Regions from separate parts of the Homo sapiens genome. Here regions 1 and 2 are each linked to region 3. The links are contacts of gene promoters, found by promoter capture Hi-C in blood cells and fetal thymus (Javierre and others, 2016). All regions are on one chromosome and are shown on one strand. The core of a region is centred on a gene start or on the middle of the fragment in contact, and the rest is flanking DNA. Distances in the headings are between cores, read along the strand shown. Region 1 overlaps PALS2 (protein associated with LIN7 2, MAGUK p55 family member). Region 2 overlaps PALS2 (protein associated with LIN7 2, MAGUK p55 family member). Region 3 holds the start of CCDC126 (coiled-coil domain containing 126).

Region 1 (4,383 bases), core at 517-3,016, 1.1 Mb after region 3:
ATGGCAGTGAAAGTGAACAAGTAAAAGACATTGAAAAATTTAGTAATTCTGTAGCTGTCTTGAAATAGTGCTGCAGTGCTGTTGGCTTGCTGTCTGGTGGCAAGTGCTTCTCTAAACTATTCAGTTCAGAAATGTTAGAATTAAATGCCTACATTTAAGACTCGTGGCAAGATAGGCATTTAGGATTTTCTTGTACTGATGTCTATCTAAAAAGTTGGATTTTTCAGCCATTTTAGTGTAAAGAAAAGGGGAAAGCTTCTGACCCTTGGACATACCCAGTGTGGCAACAGCTGTGTGAACTTACGTGGCCTGGCTTGTAGCTCTCAGTCATGCAAGGTCATAAACCTGATTTTTGATAGCACATAAGAGTGATTCATCTTTTACTGCAGGCAGCATTCATTAAGGTTACAGAGTCTGATGTATAGAATAAAATAGTACTGATGAGAAGTATAACCATTAAGTGAACCAAGCACTCATTTTATGGTCTTTGCATTCATTTCTCTATTTGCATATTTACATAGAAAGTTAAATAATCATGTCAGAAGTATGCTTGATGAGAATGGAATTAGATCAAGGAATTGGATGATGTTAGTGATTTACTGTAATGACTAATACACATTTGTCTCTGACTGTAGGGACTAATAAACATTTGTCTTTGTTTTTGAAATACGTGGATCTTTACTTGTGAACTTAGATGTTCTCTCCCTTGAAGAAAGCAGGAGATAAGCTAACATTGCTTTCATTCCCATTGCTGTGCTTCTATTTCTGACCAAGCCCCCTTTTAACATGGCATTCCTTTAGGTATATTAATGCCTTTAAGCTATTTTGAGTCAAATCCTAGGCTAACTTTAACCCTATCTCTTTTAATTGAATTTTAGAGTTTCCCTGGTTTTGTCCAGTATATTTTGGGTTTAATTCTCAGTGAGTACTCTTATTGCTAAAATTCTTAAAAGTTAGGGAAATAGCCTTGTCATTGCCCCCCTGTGCTACTTATAATCCCTTCAGTGTAAATCTTCTGATTCTACTGCAGGCATTGTAAATCACTAAATTTAGACAAATCCTACTAAAGTGGTTAACAGAACAAAAACTTCACTGTAATCAACGTATGTTAAAGCTGCACTTGTGAAGTAAAAAGTTTTTCGCTTTTATCAAATTCATATGTGCCCAATATTTTTAGCAAGTAGTTCTTAAAGACATATAATGGGGAAAAAAATAACCCCTTCTCTTCCCCTGCCTCACTTATGAAAAACAGTCACTTTTCATTGTTTTTGCTATTTCTTTTGGTTGTGTTCCATATTTCTTAATAATGTCTTTAGTCTGCTGTTTCCTGCTTTATGCAGTTTAGGCCTTATCTGTTGACTTCCTGACTGTCCTTCCAATATAAAGATAGCTGTATTTTCAGTTAGTTCAATTTCACTTTCTTGAACAGCCCTTTCCCCTTCTGTGACCCAGGAATCTCTGGAGTTCTGTTTTTCTTTATACTACCTGATTTTATATATATATGTGTATACAGTTTTTTGTTGTTTTTTAAACTAAAGACTTGTTTATCCAGTAAGTCAGGTTCTTTTTTTTTTTCCTGGAGACCTCTGTCTCAGAACCCTCTGTCTTTCTGCTTCAATGAGGACTACATGCTGTCTCTCTGGCTGCCCAGCTGTTAACACTGGAGTAGTTCCCTTTGTTGTTATCCTGGGTTGAAGCTGTTGTTCCTGGATCCCATTCTTTCTCTTTCTTGGTTTATCACCTTGTTTTGCTGGGGTACATCCTCTTGTATGTGGAATGTAATGTCTGCATCTTTGTGTTTTAAAATGTATATTTTCTGCCCTTTATTTGACTAATTAGCAGAGAATAGAATTCTGGATTGTAAAATTCAAAAGCTGTTACAACGTCTTCATCATCGCCAAAAGAATCTCTGTACCCATTTCCCACCAACTTCCTCACCCCCTGCTGCCAGGAGCAATCATGAATCTTTCTGTCAAAATAGATTTGCTTATTTTGGACATTTTATATACTGGAGTTATACAATATGTGGTGTTTTGTGACTGGCTTCTTAACATGTCAGATCTCATCTGCATTGTAGCATTTATCAGTACTTATTTTCTTTTCCTTGCTAAGTGATTATTATATGGCTATACCACATTTTATTTATATATTCATCAGTTGATGGACATTTGGACTGTTTTATTTTTAGCTATTGTGAATAATGCTACACTCAGCATTTGTATACAGGTATTTGTGTGGACATATGCCTGTTTCTCTTGGGTATATACCTTGGAATGGAATTTGTAGGTTATATGATGACTGTATGTTTAGCCTTTAGAAGAACTTCCACACTGTTTTCCACAGCAGCTGTGTATATACCCTTCACAATCCCAGCAGCATATGAAGTTTCCAGTTTCTCTACATCCTCACCAACATTTGTCATCTGGCTTTTTGATTGTAGTCATCCTAGTGGGTGTAAAGTTGTATCTCATTTTGGTTCTCATTTGCATTTCCCTAATGTCTGATCATGTCAAACAACTTTTCATGTACATATTTGCCATTTATATATTTTCTTTGGAGGAATGTCTGTTCAAACTGGTTGCCCATTTTTCAGTTAGGTTATTTGTCCTTTTCTTAAGCTGTAAGAGGAGGTCATATTATATTCTGGGTACAGGTTCCTTGTTAGATATGATTTGCACGTATTAATATTTTCTCTCATTCTTTGTTGACTTCTCGTGTTTTTGATGGTGTCCTTTGATATACAAAAGTTTTTCATTTTGATGAAGTCCAAATTTATATGTCTTTTGTTGCTCATGCTTTTCATATCGTATCAAGTATGGTACCATATCAAGGCTTTCCCTAACCCAAGGCCACAAAATTTTACTCCTGTATTTTATTTTAAGAGTTTATACTACTGACTCTTACATGCAGATTATATGATCAATTTTGTGTTCATTTTTGTGTCAAATGTGAGGAGGGGGTTCCAACTTTATTCTTTTGCTTGCACTTATCCAGTTGTCACAACACAATTTGTCAAAAAGAATAGTTCTTTCCTCCAGTGGATTGTCTTGCCACCCTTTTTGAAAATCAATTGATTGTAAATGTCAAGATTTATTTATAAACCCTCAGTTCTGTTCCATTAACCTAGATGTCTGTCCTTATGCCAGTCCCACATTGTCTCGATTACTGTATATTTGTATTAAGTTTCAAAACCAGGAATTGTGAACCCAACTTGTTCTTTCTTTTTCAGCTTGTTTTGGCTCTTCTGGGTTCCTGACATTTCTATATAAATTATAAGATAAGCTTCCAGTTTCTGCAGAAAAGGTAGCTAGAATTTTAAGAGGGATTATATTGAATTCTAGCTACCTTTTCTGCAGCAATTGGAAGCTTATCTTATAATTTATATAGAAATGCCAGTAACTTGGCCTTGAGGACTACTGCCATCTGTTTTGTTTTGTTTTGTTTTGTTTTGTTTTGTTTTGTTTTGTTTTGTTGAGATGGAGTCTTGCTCTGTTGCCCAGGCTGGAGTGCAATGGCATGATCTCGGCTCACTGCAGCCTCCACCTCCTGGATTCAAGCCATTCTCCTGCCTCAGCCTCCCCAGTAGCTGGGATTACAGGCACCCACCATCCTGCCTGGCTAATTTTTTTTGTATTTTTAGTAGAGACTTGCTTTCACCATGTTGGCCAGGCTGGTTTCGAACTCCTGACCTCAGGTGATCTGCCTGCCTTAGCCTCCCAAAGTGCTGGGATTACAGGTGCTATATTAACAGTATTAATTCTTCCAGTCTATGAGCATAGATGTCTCTCTGTTTATTTAGGTTTTCATTTTAATGCTGTTTATGGTTTTCATTGTACAAATATTATGCTGCTTTTGTCACATTTATTCCTGAGTATTTTTTTCTTTTTTATTCTGTAGCAAAAAGTATTTTCTTAATTTCCTTTTTGGATTGTTCCTTGCTAGTGTACAGAAATAAACTGATTTTTGTGTGTTGGCTTTGTCTTTTAGCCTTATTGACCTCATTGATTCTAATGATGATTTTTTTGTGTGGGTTCCTCAGGATTTTCTATATACAAAATCATGTCATCTGCAAATAGAGATCGTTTTACTTGTTTCTTTCCAATCTGGGTGCTGTTTATGTCGTTGTCTTGTCTACTTTCCTCAACTAGAACCTGCAGTGTAATGTGTAATAGTGTAATAGAAGTGGCAAAAGTGAACATCCTTGTCTTGTTCATGATCTTAAGGAGAAAGGAGAAAGCATTCAATCTTTCCATTTTAGCTGTGGGTTTTTCATAGATGCCTTTCATCAGATTGGAGAAGTTCCCTTCTGTTCCTGCTTTGTTGGCTTTTTACCAAGAAAGGGTACTAGATCTTGCCAAATGCTTTTTCTTTGTTAATGGTTCA
Region 2 (4,239 bases), core at 41-2,540, 1.0 Mb after region 3:
TTAGCATATTATCCAGAAAGAAGAGAAACTACGAACAGATCTGATTAGAAGAAACAATTAAATTCCTAGTAATTACTTCTGGGAGTAGGATAAGTTGGGAGAAGGGTAAGCAGCATGGAACAGAAAACTGTATTTTATAAGCCATTTAGTACTACAATCTGACTTTTAACAGTGTTTATATTTTACTTTAATAAAAATAAAAGTTAATATTAAAAACGACTTCTGTATTTACTGTTGATTTATTCTATGAGCTAAGAGATAAAACTAATAAAATTAAGATTATAATATTGAGTGAGGGGAGGGGTCTAGCGTCACTCTCTAACATGTACATATGTTGTCCCAGCACCAGCTGTTGAAAAAACTATTTTTTTCTTTATTGAATTGTCTTGGCACATTGTCAGAATCAATTGACCATAAATGTATGGATTTGTTTCTAGCCTGTTGTTTAGTTGTATGTATGTATATATGCTAGTTCCACACAGTCTTGATTACTGTAGCTTTTTAGTAAGTTTTGAAATTGAGAAGTGTGAGGTCTCCAACTTTGTTGTTCTTTTTGAAGACTCTTTTGGCTATTCTGGTTTTTTTGAGTTTCCATATGAATGGAATGAGCTTGTCAATTTCTACAAAAAAAGAAAAGGCAGTTCAGATTTTGATAGGGAGTGTATTAAACCTGTAGGTTAATTTGGGAATTGTTGCCATTTTAATAATAAGTCCTCTGATCCATGAACATGGGATGTCATTCCCTTTATTTAGATCTTCTTTCATTCTTTCAATGATGTTTTATAGTTTCATTGTACAAATTTTGTACTACTTCTGTTACATCTATTTCTCAGTATTTTATTGTCTTTGATGCTACTGTAAAAGGAATGGTTTTCTTAATTTCATTTTTGGATTGTTTGTCACCAGTGTATAGAAATACACTATGTGTAACAACATATTGGTTGTTTTGTATTAATCTTGTATACTGAAACCTTGGTGAACTCACATATTAATGATAATAAATTTTTGTATATTAGGATTTTCCATATACAGAATCATATGATCTGCAAATATAAATTGTTTTACTTATTGCTTTCTAGTCTGGATGCCTTTTCTTTATTTTCTTTTTTCTTTTTTTTTTTTTTGCTTAACAGCCCTGTCTAGAACCTCTAATCCAAAGTTGAATAAAAATGCCAAAAGTGTACAGCCTTATTTTTTTCCTTATTAGGAGTAAAAGCACCATTAAGTATGATATTAGCTGTGGGTTTTTCATAGAAGCCTTTTATCAGAGAGAAGAATTTCCCTTCTATTTTTAGTTTGGTGAATGTTTTTATTATGAAAGAGTTTTGGGTTTTGTCTAATGATTTTCTTTGTCTGAAGTGTCATTTGGTTTTGTTCTTGGTTTTATTAATAGAGTCTGTTGAGTTTTTATCTGTTGAACCACTCGTTCATTCCTGGGATAAAGTGAACTTGGCCATTATGTACAATTGTTTGTATATGTCACTGGATTCAGTATTTTGTTTAAGATTTTTGCATTTGTATTTCTAGGAGAGATTGGTGGTAATTTTTTTGTGTGTGATGTTGTTGGGTTTAGTATCAGGGTAATTGGTCTCATAGAATGAGTTGGAAGGTGTTTCCTTCTCTTCCGTTTTTTTTTTTTTTTTGAAGGAGTTTGTGAAGTATTGGTTTTAATTCTTTTTTAACTGTTTGATAGAATTCAGCAGTGAAGGCTGGTTCTGAGCTTGTGGGAAGTTTCTGATTCCTAAATTAGACTTTTTCCTTCTTATAAGTCTGTTTGAATTTTCTGTTTTTTCTTGAGTAATGTTTTTAAATTTGAAAAATACAGAGCAAGTGCAAGGTTGTAAGTATGTGTAAGGTAGTCTGATAAAGTCCAAATTACATATAAAAATCTATCCTGCTATTAATTCCTGGGAAGTCAATTTGAAACTCATACTGTTTAACAATTTCATTTTTTAAAATGTTATTTTTCCAAAGAGTATTCTTAATGTCTAGTTGCATTATTAAAATAATCTTACTCCATAACGGCTTGAAATTTAAGGGTTTTTGTTTGTTTGTTTGTTTGTTTGTTTTTATGTTGCTTTTATCTCAGCAGCAATGCAGCAAGTCTTGGAAAACCTTACGGAGCTGCCCTCGTCTACTGGAGCAGAAGAAATAGACCTAATTTTCCTCAAGGGAATTATGGAGAATCCTATTGTAAAATCACTTGCTAAGGTATATAGATTTATTCATAAGATTACTGAATTATTTTGGACTTAGTTTTTATAGAGATATTTTCAGATATTACTATTTTAGAATTTGGTTGATATACATTAGGTTTAGTTAGCAAATAAAAACATTCAGCACATAATGAAATCTTAACATATGCAAAAATTAGACCATTTTTCTCTTTTCTACTCTGACTTTAAATACAGGATGAAATGACTCTTAGTTTTGGCGTAATGCCTTTAAGGTTTAGAGAAATCATACCTGCACAGTTGTGTTTTAACAGGGCCTGTGAAAAAGATCCTGATCCTATTTCCATTTTCAACAATGGCAAAGTACTGATTTTCTTCTTTTGCATTAGACTGTGTACCTACTTTTCATGTAAGTTCTTGACTTCCTTTATCTAGTGCTTTTTTGAAATTTTGTTATTTGTTGCATAAGCCTGGTATTTTAAGTCTGTTTCCCTAGTCAACTCTGGAGTAATCTCTTTAACTCATTGATAAGTATACTTTACAACCATTTTTATTAAATAATTATTATATGCTAAAGCTTAATGTATTACCTATTTTACAAACCTGCTATACCATTCTTTAGAGTTCCCCCAAATGACTCTTGCTTTCAAGAATCTATGCCACATGCCTTCTTTGATCTTTTCTTCATAGAGCCATCTTGTTCCTTTTGGTTTTTGCTCTATGAGAATGTTGATTTCACTCTCTTCTGTGATTTTTTTCTTAGCCAAAGTCTGTTACTTGTTTTCTTCCAAGACCTCTGAAAAATACCTTTTACAAGGTTTTCTATTAGTGAGAGTGAATTAATGATGCAGATTCTTCTTTTTTTTTTTTTTTTTTTGAGAGGAAGTCTCACTTTGTCTCCCAGGCTGGAGTGCACTGGCACGATCTCAGCTCACTGCAACCTCTGCCTGCTGGGTTCAAGTGATTCTCCTGCCTCAGCCTCCCGAGTAGCTGGGACTACAGGCGTGTGCCACCACCCCTGGCTAATTTTTGTATTTTTAGTAGAGGAGGGGTTTCACCATGTTGGCGCAGGCTGGTCTCGAACTCCTGACCTCACATGATCCACCCACCTTGGCCTCCTGGGATTACAGGCATAAGCCACCAGGCCCGGCCAATGATACAGAGTCTTCATTTTATTTACGTGTTTACTTATGCTAAAATCACATGGTATAAAGGCCCTTAAGTAGAAACGAATCCATTTGCAGATCATCCAACTGGAATTTTTATTTTAGTCATTTTTTACTATAGCCTTTCCAATGTTCATTAGATATTTTTATATTTTAATAATAATGTGCAGGGTATTGTTTCAGATTCAAACTTGTCATAAACATTAATTCCTACTGTTTTAAAGTAATAGCTCCAGGGTCTGTTGAAATTAGTAGGAACTATTTAAATTTCTGTTAAATAGTTTACCTGGGTTCTTATTGTACTTTTAAAATGGTTTTTTACTCTTTTCTTGATGTTTTTCTGTTGATTGTCAGTTATTGTCCATGTAGCTGTTACACTGTTATCTCCATGTTTATTTAATTTATAGCTTTTGATCTATAGATTTTAAAACTATATAATGCACTAACAAATGTTTATAGTTTGCAAAGGTCTTTAAAATACACTGTTTTGTCTTCACAACAACTTTATGAATTTAAAATATACTGTTTTATCTTTCAACAACTTTTGAATTGAAAAGTAAGACTCAGTCAATAAGTGTTGTGTCTAAGGTCTCTCTGCTAGCAAAAGACAGATGAGGTTTAGGCCATGTGTTCTATCATCAAATTCTGTGTTCTACCTACTCCAACACCGGGTGATGGGGTATGTGTATGTTTGTGTATGCTTATTCTTAAAAACTGGTGGGAGTAAAAATTTACTGATTTTATGCCATTGATGTTGGTCTTTCAGAGGATTATCTTGTTCATTATTCTTAACAGTTGCAATGGTTGGATGACTTTTGAGCAGGTAAGGTGCTACTGTACTCTTTTGATGATAAAAATGAAATAAAGCAAAGAGTTATCCAATAATATGCAACATTCAG
Region 3 (3,808 bases), core at 107-2,606:
ACTCCAGGCTCAAGCAATCCACTTGCCTCAGCCTCCCGAAGTGCTGAGATCATAGGCATGGGCCACCGTGCCTAGTCTATAATAAAGCTTGTTATCCGGTAGCACAAGTTTTCCTCCTCCCACTCCTTCTCCTCTTCTTTTTTTTTCTTCCTCCTCTTCCTCATGAATGCTTGTCTTTGCTCTTCCATAACATTTTGAATTAGCTTGTCAAGTTTCTCACACATACACAGAAATTTATTGAGATTTTGTTGGGAATTGCACTGGCTCTGTAGGTAGGTTTGGAGAGACTTGGCATTTTTCAGTATTGACTCTTCCAATTTATGAACATGTTACATCTTTATTTAGGTCTTCTTCAGTGTCTTCCAATGTTTTCTTCAGGCAGGTTTTGCATTTCTTTGATCGATTTATTCCTAGGTACTTGATATTTGTTTGGAGCTGTTGGAAATGGTATCTTTAAAAAAATTATCTTTTTTACTAGCATATATAAATAAATATTGATTTTTTAAAATATGATTTTTGTATCTATTAACCTTGTTAAAAACTTTTATTGTTAACAGTTTATCTGCAGATTGTTTTGAAGTGCCACAAACAATTTTTTTTTTTTTTTGAGACGGAGTTCTGCTCTTGTTGCCCAGGCTGGAGTGCAGTGGCGCGATATCAGCTCACTGCAACCTCCGCCTCCTGGGTTCAAGCAATTCTCCCGCCTCAGCTCCCCGAGAGGCTGGAATTACAGGCGTCCGCCACCTCGCCCTGCTAAGTTCGTATCTGTAGTAGAGACGGGGTTTCACCATGTTGGCCAGGCTGGTCTCGAATTCCCGACCTCAGGTGATCCTCCCGTCTTGGCCTCACAAACTGCTGGGATTACAGGCATGAGCCAACGGCGCCCGGCCTCCACGTACATAATTACATAATCTATGAAAAAATAATTTTGTTTCTTCCTATTTAATCTTCAATCCTTTTATTTTTCTTGCCTCACTCCACTGGCTAAGGACCTTTGGCTTCAATAATGGGTAGTCTCATCTGTAGCACACTTAATCATCACTAAGCTTTCCCAGCCTCAGGTCAATAGTATTAGGAGGTTGGTTCCTCACCGGAGGGTCGGGAACAAGACGCCAGAGCCCTTCTTCCAGCGCCTGCAGCGAGTTAAGGCCGAGGGTATGCCTCTGGCGGGCTCATCTTCCAACACAGAAGACCCCGCCGCCCTCTCTGGTTGCCGCGCAGCTGCGTCGTTCTGACCCAGGGTAGGTGCAGGGCGGCTGGAAGCACGTGCCGCCGCTTCCTCATTCTGGGACTACATCCCCCACAATGCCGCGCGCCGCGGGCGGCTGGCCCCCGAGTGCGGGAAGGGCCGGCAGGGAGGCGGAGCGGAAGCCGAGTGCGAGGGACGAGCGGAGTAAAATCTCCACAAGCTGGGAACAAACCTCGTCCCAACTCCCACCCACCGGCGTTTCTCCAGCTCGATCTGGAGGCTGCTTCGCCAGTGTGGGACGCAGCTGACGCCCGCTTATTAGCTCTCGCTGCGTCGCCCCGGCTCAGAAGCTCCGTGGCGGCGGCGACCGTGACGAGAAGCCCACGGCCAGGTAATGAGTAAGGGGCGAGTCCGCCAGCCGGGCCCGCACCTCTCGCGCGCCCCTCAGCCTAGCCGGCCGCTCCTCCCCCGCCGCGCCCCCGTCCCCGGTCCCCGCCCCGCTAGGGCCGCTGCTGCGGAAACCCGGCTTAGGAACGGGCCGGCAGCCTCCGGCCGCGGCCGGGAAGGCTCTTTGTCCCTTCCTTTGGGCCGCGTCTCTGCCCCTCCGCGTCTGACAGCCGCGGCGCCTCGGCTCGGGCGGAGAGCCGAGCGTGGCTGGGGCTGCGCGAGTCGAGCGGGGCGGGCTTGGTCCGGAGCTGCGGGATGTAGATCCCGGGCGGCACCGCACTCACTTCTTTTTCTGTTTTTGACAGCTCAGTTCTCTTCTACTTTGGGAGAGAGAGAAAGTCAGATGCCCCTTTTAAACTCCCTCTTCAAAACTCATCTCCTGGGTGACTGGTAAGGATGAACTTAAACTGCCGTGTTGATTGTTGACTGTGACGGTAATGAGAATGGCTCAGCCAGCTAGGGTTCGAATCCTGCCTGGGTTTCTCTCACTGCCTGCCTTGGTGATCTTGGTTACTTAAAGGCTCTAAGCTTGAGTTTTCTCATCCATCAAAACACACACCTGTAAGTGGTTAGAATTAGGAATATAGACCTATAACGTCATTAGTTCTTCATTTGATGAAAAGATCCTTTGTGATACTTTCATTAGCTATGACTGAAGTGACCGAAGTGGCCTCTGGACTTGAGTTTTGTGCTTTTGTTTGTTTAATCATCCTGGGTTGTGTGTTCTTCACTTTATCTTAAACCTAACCAAAGGATTCATTAAAATATGCCGTCTTCCTAATTTTTGCTGTTTTAAGATGGCTGAGAATGTTCTTAGGAAATTGATGACTCTGCTTTTCTGTGGATCAGCTTCAGAGGTACAAGTATTCACCTCTCCCCTCCCCCTCAGGTGTGTCCTTTGGGAATCCTTAGAGGCGCTAAGTGTTTGTTTCGTCAGAGTAGGCATCCAGGTATTTTACAGTCCTGCCTCTGGGCTTCACCATATTTAACCTGGGTCAACTTTTTTCTACATCTGTCTGCATCTTCTCACTGATTAATAATTTCTCACTCTAAAATGTGTTGCAAAAATACTTGTTTTGAGGAAAATGTTTCTATGTTGGTGTTATTTAGTGCAGTGTAGGACAGAGAGTAATGGCTACGGAAATAGGAGTCCTTAGTTTTGTCCTTGCTCTGTCACTATCTGTGTAACCTGAGATTACTTTGTGGTCCTCAATGTCCTCATCTCTAAAATAGTGAATTGGTCTGATTCCAAGGACTCTTCTAGCTCAGACTTTCAATGATAAAGGTTTTTAGAGGTTTTTTTTTAAATGTGGAAACAAAATTTGTGTAAACCCTTTTAGTCATTTGTGTTCTTAGTGTTTCTTCCTGCTTCAGGTCATATAATTCTTTCAAACTACCTTGAAAGAAGGAATACATTTAAGAGAACAAGAAAGCTGCCAGAAATAAGAATCTCTACCAGCCAGTTATCACTCTCTCATGAGCTGCACAGTTTCTCTGCATTTTTGACATGCTTTGTTCTCTTTCTCCCTACTCTGTATCTTTTGCTCATAGCCCCTATACCTGTTGTGCCTGATTCTTCATAACTTTAGCTTGTCAATCCCCTCATCCAACTTTATTATTTATTTTCATGACTTCTCCTTCAGCTCCTTCTGCCAACTGCCTGGTTTTCCCTGGGGCCTCTTTGTTTGAGGCCAGAGATGCTAGCCTAGTTGGCTTTGGAAGGGGAGGTGGGGACATGTGGCACAAAACATGATTGGCCACGGCTGTGACAGGTGAAGCTCTGTGATTGAAGTATCTAGTGCTGCATAGTGTGTGTCTATGTATATGTATATATATAGGTTTTGTTGTTTTTTTTTTTTGAGACAGAGTCTTACTCTGTCACCCAGGCTGTAGTGCAGTGGTGCTGGCTCACTGCAACTTCTACCTTTTGGGTTCAAGCAATTCTTGTACCTCATGCCTGGCTAATTTTTGTAGTTTTAGTAGAGACAGGGTCTCACCATGTTGGTCAGGCTGGTCTTGAACTTCTGACCTCAAGTGATCTGCCTATGTCAGCTTCCCAAATGGTGGGATTATAGGTGTGAGCCCTGGAGCCCGGCCTGCATAGTTTATTTTATTGCATATTTTAGTTTAGTTAGTTTAGTTTGAGACAGCCTTGCTCTTTCACTCAGCTTG

What was found. The method cuts DNA at HindIII sites, captures the fragments that hold promoters and counts their contacts. A CHiCAGO score of 5 or more calls a contact.
Region 1: a contact is called between a fragment that was not itself captured here and the fragment with the promoter of CCDC126 in region 3, in 1 of 17 cell types (monocytes). The highest score is 5.2, in monocytes.
Region 2: a fragment that was not itself captured here is called in contact with the fragment with the promoter of CCDC126 in region 3 in 1 of 17 cell types (erythroblasts); the score reaches 5.4 in erythroblasts.

Annotation. Positions count from the first base shown.
Region 1 is chr7:24,668,773-24,673,155 of GRCh38, forward strand. The region is part of intron 9 of PALS2 (protein associated with LIN7 2, MAGUK p55 family member); the gene reads left to right. Among named protein-coding and RNA genes, the nearest start is that of GSDME, 86 kb to the right of the region's middle. The HindIII fragment of the contact is 3,027 bases long and covers 254-3,280 here.
Region 2 is chr7:24,621,574-24,625,812 of GRCh38, forward strand. PALS2 (protein associated with LIN7 2, MAGUK p55 family member) reads left to right here. Exons shown (of 12, transcript NM_001303037.2): 2 at 2,093-2,211. The coding sequence starts at 2,095. Among named protein-coding and RNA genes, the nearest start is that of PALS2, 50 kb to the left of the region's middle. The HindIII fragment of the contact is 2,918 bases long and covers 1-2,749 here.
Region 3 is chr7:23,596,026-23,599,833 of GRCh38, forward strand. CCDC126 (coiled-coil domain containing 126) reads left to right here and starts at 1,357. Exons shown (of 4, transcript NM_138771.4): 1 at 1,357-1,580; 2 at 1,942-2,026. LOC105375187 (a long non-coding RNA gene) reads right to left here and starts at 1,300. Exons shown (of 2, transcript XR_927098.2): 1 at 1,092-1,300. RefSeq lists a silencer at 1,599-1,838. The HindIII fragment of the contact is 1,118 bases long and covers 1,045-2,162 here.